Linked DNA regions of Homo sapiens: region 1 is linked to region 2. Evidence: promoter capture Hi-C in human tissues and cell types (Jung and others, 2019). All regions are on one chromosome and are shown on one strand. The core of a region is centred on a gene start or on the middle of the fragment in contact, and the rest is flanking DNA. Distances in the headings are between cores, read along the strand shown.

Region 1 (3,683 bases), core at 661-3,160, 900 kb after region 2:
AATAAATAGTTCTTTCACTGCTAAACAGCAATCAGCATGTATCAGATTGTTGGACAGACTTTTTCAATAAAAAGCATTTGCTTTTTCTATTGTTTAAGACATCTTAATATTATAGGTAGGTGGTAAGAAAGCAGGTTAGGCTTTGGGGAAAAAATCTGAAATTTTGTAATAATTTCTGTAATTATGCCAACATAGTTAAGTCTTTATGAATAATGGCCCTTTTTCCTCTTTTGGGCTGACCTGGAGTCCTTTTAAGTGTGAGCATGATGTTACAATACTGCCCCCTACTGTAAGACTTTGGATAATCCTTTCAAAGGAACTTCAAGAAAAACCAGAAGAAACTAACAGATGATTGGGGACAAGCATATCTTATTACATTTGGCATTTTGAAAGTATGTTTTGATGAACAGTTCAGGCCTCTTAAATGCAGAACTCTAGAATAATAGTATAATACATACTTTTGTTTCTCAGTTTGTTTTCTTTTGAATTAATGTTGTTGCTGCTCTGTTCCTTTGAGTTAAACAGAGGAAATTTTCCTCCCCCGCCATGCTTTGGGATGATGGATCTTACTCCGGGTTTTGTGAATGTGTTTCTGTTTTAATTAGTGTTGGTTTCAAGGAATTGTGAATCTTTGAAAAAAGCACACAGGGTGTCTTTGAGGCTGGATAAAGAATGATGCTTTTGTCTATCTTCCGTGTGGCTTTGGTATTTTAATAATAATAACCAATTTTGTGGTAAAGTATATCGATTCAACCAATCCTATCTTGCAGTTCATCCAGTCTTAAATCTAGCTGTCTCTAAATAGCTTTGTATTCTTTTGCATTGAGTAAAACTATAAATTTATGTGAACAAGACATTGGCATGATTTAGACTTTTTTTTTTTTGATGAAAAGTTGAATTCTCCTTCCCCCACCCCTTTTTATGGATATTGCTTTAACGAAATGATTTCAATGACATTTCTTTTGCCAATGCATATTTTCTGACATTAAAAAACAAATCAAAAGCCACTTATCATATGAATCATTGTTAAAGTCAGCAGTAATCCACTGTGTAAAATCTCCCTGCAAAGGCGCAGAGGCTAGGGGCTTAAACCTGGAGCACATTAAATTAGTTCCAGTCTCTCGCGAATGGTCTTTGCCTGGCTTGCTTAGGCAGGCAAAACGGAAACAGGCAGTTTATAACAAGAATCTGCTTTAAAAACCATGGGGTTCATTGGAGAAAGATTTATATCCTCCACTTATATAAACATTACAAATGTGGACTGCAAGTAGGAAGGAAACCTTTATCGAAATCTCTTGAAGAGCTTTTTCACTGAGAGTAAAATGGACAGCATACACTGTTGTTTGAAGACACGCCAGCATTTCGACAATCATGTTTTTCACTGCTTTGCCTGATTAAAATGTAGCATTGTGAAGACTAACCAGACCACCTACTTTCAATTTATTTTCATGATGAGACTATGTTGGCATCAAAAGAGGAGTCAAAAGACTCTGTGCCAAAGGAGAAAATGATCATTTAAGGATTTTTAAAAAGACAAAGTAATTACATGAAGTCTTAGGGTAATGGAATCTGGACATCAGTTTCTGTCACCTCCTGATCTAAAATTATTTTTATATATAAACACTATCCTAGATATCATGTTGTCTTTAGGATTGTAATAGAACACAGATGAGGCTTGAAATATTTGGTCCAATAAAATGAGAAAGGCTGAAAGGAAAGATTACCATTTGAGATTAGAGTAGCTATTTATTTGATATTTCACATATGGTGATGTTAAGTCTTGAGCTAGATTTCTGTTTTTCTCTCATCTGGTTTTATCTCATTTTTAATATCTTGGAAATTGCCATAGAAATGTACTTTTCTTTGCCCTAAATGTGTAATAACAGGGCACTATCACTAAATTAACTTTTTTCTTCAGGCTTGTTATCAGGAGCTATAATTTGATAGGTTTTAGTCACAATCCAGGTAGTACTGAATCAGTTGTTCGTACGATTTCTTCAGTCTGTCTGGAAAGTAGCACATCTGTTTTTAGCATTCTTAGCTGGTTCCAAATGTAAGCTTATTTTAAATGCACCTTAAAAACTGGGGCTGACTATGAGAAGTGGCATGGTGAAAGCATTTGAAGGACACAATGTGAAACCAGGATCCGTAGGAATGTGGGGTTAATATCTCAGTGAGCCCAGACCAGAAGGGTCACCTGGGGGCTATTTGCCTATCAGGACTATTTGCCTTGACTACAATTAGAGGTAAAGGCAGGTTTCTGAAAAGGAAAGTCATTTATTTGACTTCACCAGATGTGCAGAAGTGAAAGATGTGATTAGGTCCAACATAAAAAAATCGGGGAAGTTGTCTCTGACCGATAACATACTATTACTACTACTACTCCTAATAATTTTAGTGGATCTCACTTGTTAAGTTCTTATATGCCATGCCAATGTTAAGTTCTTTACATATACCATTATTTTTAATCCTTACAGCACTCGATTTTTAAATTGACGAAGCTGGGATACAGAGGCTTGAGTAACATGCTCAAGTCACACTACTGGCCGTGGCAGAGCCGGTCCTTGTAACCAGCCATTCTGACTGTAGAGCCCATTCTCTTAGCCTGCTTTACCACTACATGATACATACTGACTTTTCTGTTTTTAAAGCCACTTGGGGTTTTTACATGACATCTGTAACCTATAATCCTGTTAATGTCCAATCTGTCCAGTTCAAATCCATTGACTTTTTATCAGCAGCTGTATCTGTACCTACAGCCATGATGCTCAAATGTGTGGCTCTAAACGAGAAAATAAAATCTTTTTTTAAATTTTTTGAGACAGAGTGTCGCTCGTGTGTACTGGGTTGGAGACAGAAGGGATATAGGGTGATTTGTGCCAGAGGTCATCAGGTAGTGATGAAAAGAAATCTTTGGTTTAGGAGGCTGATACTCTGTAGAGAAGGATTAAGATAAAAGATGGTTTGTGTTCATCTCAGCTAGTCTATGATTTCCTTCAAATCATTAAGTTATCCTAAATCTGTGTTATTTTCTAATGATGGATTTCTACTATGGAAAGCCTCTAGTTTCAACAATAAATTGAAACTACTGGTACTTCTTTGGCTGAGTAAAACTTAGTTCTTTAAGAAATTTGATCTATGTTCATCCGTAATATGAAGAAAAGAATATATGTGTTACTAGAGTGGATTTTCATAGTGAATAATAGTCTTCAAAAGTGAGGCACAAATGTACTGCTAGCAATAACTTATATAATTATAGGTTCTAAAAAGGTTTTAATAGATAATAGTGAGTTTTTTCTTTACATAATTGGAATAAGCATTGACCAAAAGAAAGAGAATCTCAGAGGTATAAGCTAACATAGTGGTAGTAGTAGTGACAGGAGGAGTGAAAAGGAAAAGAAAACTGCATTCGTTAGTATGTTTACACACGAGACAAAAAGGATGCTCTATAGTTGATGGAAGAAGAGACAAAAGTGTAACTATAGTATTTTAAATGAAGAAGGTAATCAATAGAGAAACCAAAGGTGTTATATAAATGTACGTTGTCTGTGTATATGTTGGTTGTATGTGTAGGGTGGGGATGCAAGCAAGCTAAATTCTAATCCATCATAGTAGGAAGCCAATAGAAAGTGCTAAAAAAGTGATTTTTAAAAGAAGTGGTGTAATTATAGCACTCTATTTTA
Region 2 (3,916 bases), core at 314-2,813:
TCAGGTAAGTGGCGATTTCAATCCTCCGGAGTCGAGACAGGTACATGTTGGAAGAGAATTCTCTCTCCAGCTCCAGGAGTTGCGTGCTAGTGAACGCCGTCCTCATCCTCTTGCCATTGGGTACCTGGCTGGCGTCAGAGCCTCCTGCGGACCGGCGAAGAGAGGGTAGAGAGGTAAGGCTCGGGCAAGGTGCTCCCACCCCATGTGCTAACCAGGACGCATTTCAGGGACCCACCCGGGGAAGCCCAGCCGAACATCTGTATCCCTTTCCCATTTCAAGGCACGTGGTTGCTTAGCGGGGAAGAAAAGAGACGTGCAAAGCAAATAAAGGTCTTCGATGCGCAGGATGCGAAGTCACAGGATTAAAGAGGGATGGGGGCTTGCACTATCTGATCGCCTCCCTTTGAGCCAAGCGGAGAAGCGCGCAGGCTTAGCCAAAAACGTCAAGACGCTTTAGCCGCCCCGACGCGGGGATGCCACACAGGTTCAAACACACCCACCCCAAATCCCAAGCAGTTAACCTCTGGTTTATCCGCCGTGACGTTCGAGGTCCCTAAGGCCCCAGTATTAATAAGGCAATACTCGAGCACCTACTACTAGGAGTAAAACGCACCAGGCTGAGTGGAGAAGCTGGCAAACTAACTTCCACTTTCGTGGAACTTCTGTGGCTGACTCTACGGTTACACTAAAAGCCCGTCCTCTCTCTTCACCCTGTCCCCGGGCTCCCACTTCCTCCACTGGAGGTGGAAAGTTTGCTCCAGGAGCGCGAAAGGCGCGGAGCGCAGGTGCCCCAAGACCCCGCCCTACCCATGGTGAGGCAGTGGAATCTCCGCGGGTCCGCCACGTTGTAGGTGGTGGCGGTGCAGACAGGTGCGTGGTGCTGCGGGTGCCCCAAGGCCGCCGCGGCCGCCGCCGCCGCTGCTGCTGCTGCCGCCGCCGCGGCCGAGCCAGGCTGCTGGGGCTGATGATGGTGATGGTGGTGCTGCGGCGGGTGGTGGTGATGATGCGCATGGTTCACCCGCGGGCAAAACTGCGCGTCCCCAGGAGCCGAAGAGAACTGGCCCTTAAGCAGAGGCAGTGCCCCTGCGGCCCCTGCCACCCCACTGCCTCCGGCCCCGGTAACCCCGGCCCCTGCGCCCCCGCTGCCGGCGCCCACAGACCCCCGAGAGGAGTGCAGGTGCGAAGTGACGCAGAGAGGGCACACGCAGAACGCGCCGCTCTTGCGGGACGGGCAGCCGGGGCCGGACACGGACATCACCAATGGGGGCGGCATGCCAAGCGGGATGAAGAAATCCGGCCCGGGGTGCGGTTCAGGCAGCGAGGGCGCAGGCCGTGAGGTGTCCTTGATGATGAGCGAGTCGACATAGAAGGAGCGCGACATGTCGAGAGGGGTGGGTGGCTGGAAGCCCCGGCAGTTCGCGGCGACCCCTCTCCTCTAGTGTTCTAAGCTCTGCCCTGGGAGCCGCGCAGACACGGGCAGTCAAGCCCTTGGGGACGCAGAGGTGTTGGCGTCTGGGCTGGGAACAAAGGGGTCCCCGGAGAGGGCTGGTCCTCACGTCCCCCGCCCGGCGCCCCGGCTCGGGTATTTTATAGCCCCCCACCCTGGCACGTGATGCTGCGGAGTACCGCTCGGCTCAGGCTCCTCGGCAGCTCCGCACCCTCGGGATAGGCTGCCCGAGTCACAACAGAAGCCGCGAGGAGGGGCGGGCGCGCGGCGGGGAAGAACTCGGGGGAGGGGGATGGGGGAGACTTTGCAAAGTGTAGGTTTTGTTAATTTCCCGGGGAGGCCGGCCTCCTCCCCCTCTTTCTCCACGCTTTACTGAGAAATCACAGCGCTGCATCCTCCATCCCACCCCCTCTCGCTACCCTGGCCGCAGCCCAACTCTTCCCCACGCCCCACCGCAAAGCGTACCAGGTGGGGACTTGGAGGCTTATTTAATAGGAATGCTCAGTGTTTCCAGCTCCTCTGTGGTAGGGGTGGCTGCGGCGCGGTGAAGTGTGAGGCCTGCGGTTTGGAGCAGGATTGTGCGGGCGACGGACTGGCAGTCGTCCAGTCCCTGAGCGCAGCTCTGGCCACGGTTACACCTACCCCTGTCCACAGCTTTTGGACTTGGCAGAGGTCATTCAGGTGGTTAGTTCAGGACTGTCCGGCGCAGAACTGTGAGGCCTCCCAGCTAAGAAACCGTCAAGCTTTTCATGCTGATGTTCGACAAGGTCTGAAGTGTCTTTGTACTTGGGGCCCTCCTGGGGCCACTCAGACCAACGACCCTTCCTTGTTTCCCTTTCTGATCGGCACCTCCCACTTCCGCAGAGAGAGAGAGATGTTGAAGAGTCACCCTTTTCTTTCTCCAAGTAGTAACACCATGGCATTCCAGGGCAATCCTACAAACTCCATCCTGAAGATTTTGGAGGGAGGACCTCAAACACCAAGCCCTCCTAAAGACGCAGCAGGGATTAGATAGACCTTCGCTCTGGGTCTGAGGATTTCCTGTCCCTCATTTTTACCAATCATGGGCAGCTTAGCAAGGCTAACCAGGAAGCACTCTTTCCTCTGCATCTTAAGAACCTAAAAAGGATGAAGAGGATTCAGCCATCCAGGGAATCTTGCCTCTGATTGGCAGAAGTGGCTTTGTAAGGGAACTCTCTCTGGTCCATGGAAGTCTTGCACACCCCTTACTGCCCGAGAGAGGGTGGCTGCCAAACTATTGGGACTATTTATCTTCGGAGAAGGCAAGGCAGCAGAGGTGGCCATTTTCTCTCTTCATTTCCCCCTGCAGAAAAGCGGGCTGGGGCCATGTGGTTGGGCAATAGTTAGAAGTCTGATCCTTTTTCCAGAGCAGCTAACTTCAATCCTGAGTTCATGATGGTGCTAAGAAACTTAGAGACAGGACTCCCTCCACCTGAGAGAACAAGGTGCCCAAATCCAGGAGAGCACTAGCTAGAGGCACGGCTCTATCTTTCCATCCTCTGTCTTCCCCTCTCCATCTCTGTGACAGTCTCTCTTGCCTGCTAGAGAAGTGTAATTGGGTTGTAGGGATGCCCGGCTCTGGGGAGCCCAGGATTTATGGATGGCAATTAAAGTTTTATGAATTGCAGCTGAGGCTGGTTATTGAGCTATTTGAATGTGATTAGAATTCAATTAGAAAGCGGTTAGTGGACGGTGGGTCTCTGGAGTGTAAACAGACAGCTATTCCAGAAATGTGCTAATCCAACATCTTGTGACAACAATTAAGGAGTCTCAGGGCTTAACATGGGGCAGCTCAGCTGTAACTACTTTTGTACCACAAGGTCTGCAGACGCTCAGGCTCACCCCAGCCCGCCCTTGTTCATGACTGGAGGATCTAGGCAATCCCCGAAATCATTTCAGCCCCAAGAAGAAGGCTTGGAGCCACTGATGGAGAATGGCAATAAAAAACATACCCTGCTGAATGGCAGGATATTTTTTACAGTCCTAAACTGTCCAAATAGATGACTCGATTCCCCCCATTCACTTTGCAACTATACAAGCATATATAGATATAGATACAGATACTCTTTAAGAATAATAGCTTTCTCTCTTTTCCTCCTCTGGGTTAGGTCCCAGGTTATCCACAGTCTGTTTTGGGCTGATGGTTTGAGTCACAATGTTCCCAGCAGTTTGGGATGTGTTCAGAGGAAGAGCTCCTATGCTAAAGTCCTAGAAATCGCACCCATGTGCAGACCATTTTACCTTAGAGAATCTTAACTATGCAAGAGGCTTGTGCATCTTATTCAATTTGTGTCTGACTGTGGAAACTTTCATTTTTCAGTGCCAAGGAGTTTTGAGAAATGTGAGGGGCTCATGGGGTTTCCTAAAGACTTCAAGGGGAGCAGTGGTTTCAGACCAGGCTGAGGCTGAAAGCAAGACCATGTCTGAAAAACTTGACCCTTAGGGTAC

What was found. Contacts are between HindIII fragments. The study calls those that stand out against the background at their distance.
Region 1: a fragment that was not itself captured here is called in contact with the fragment with the promoter of GSX2 in region 2 in 1 of the 25 tissues and cell types used here (lymphoblastoid cells).

What each region holds. Positions count from the first base shown.
Region 1 is chr4:53,193,979-53,197,661 of GRCh38, reverse strand. The region is part of intron 4 of SCFD2 (sec1 family domain containing 2); the gene reads left to right. Among named protein-coding and RNA genes, the nearest start is that of SCFD2, 170 kb to the left of the region's middle. RefSeq lists an enhancer at 1-2,355. The HindIII fragment of the contact is 8,584 bases long and covers 1-3,683 here.
Region 2 is chr4:54,097,810-54,101,725 of GRCh38, reverse strand. It overlaps GSX2 (GS homeobox 2), which reads right to left and starts at 1,563. Exons shown (of 2, transcript NM_133267.3): 1 at 808-1,563; 2 at 1-144. The coding sequence starts at 1,381. RefSeq lists enhancers at 1-136, 137-928, 929-1,719. The HindIII fragment of the contact is 7,597 bases long and covers 1-3,916 here.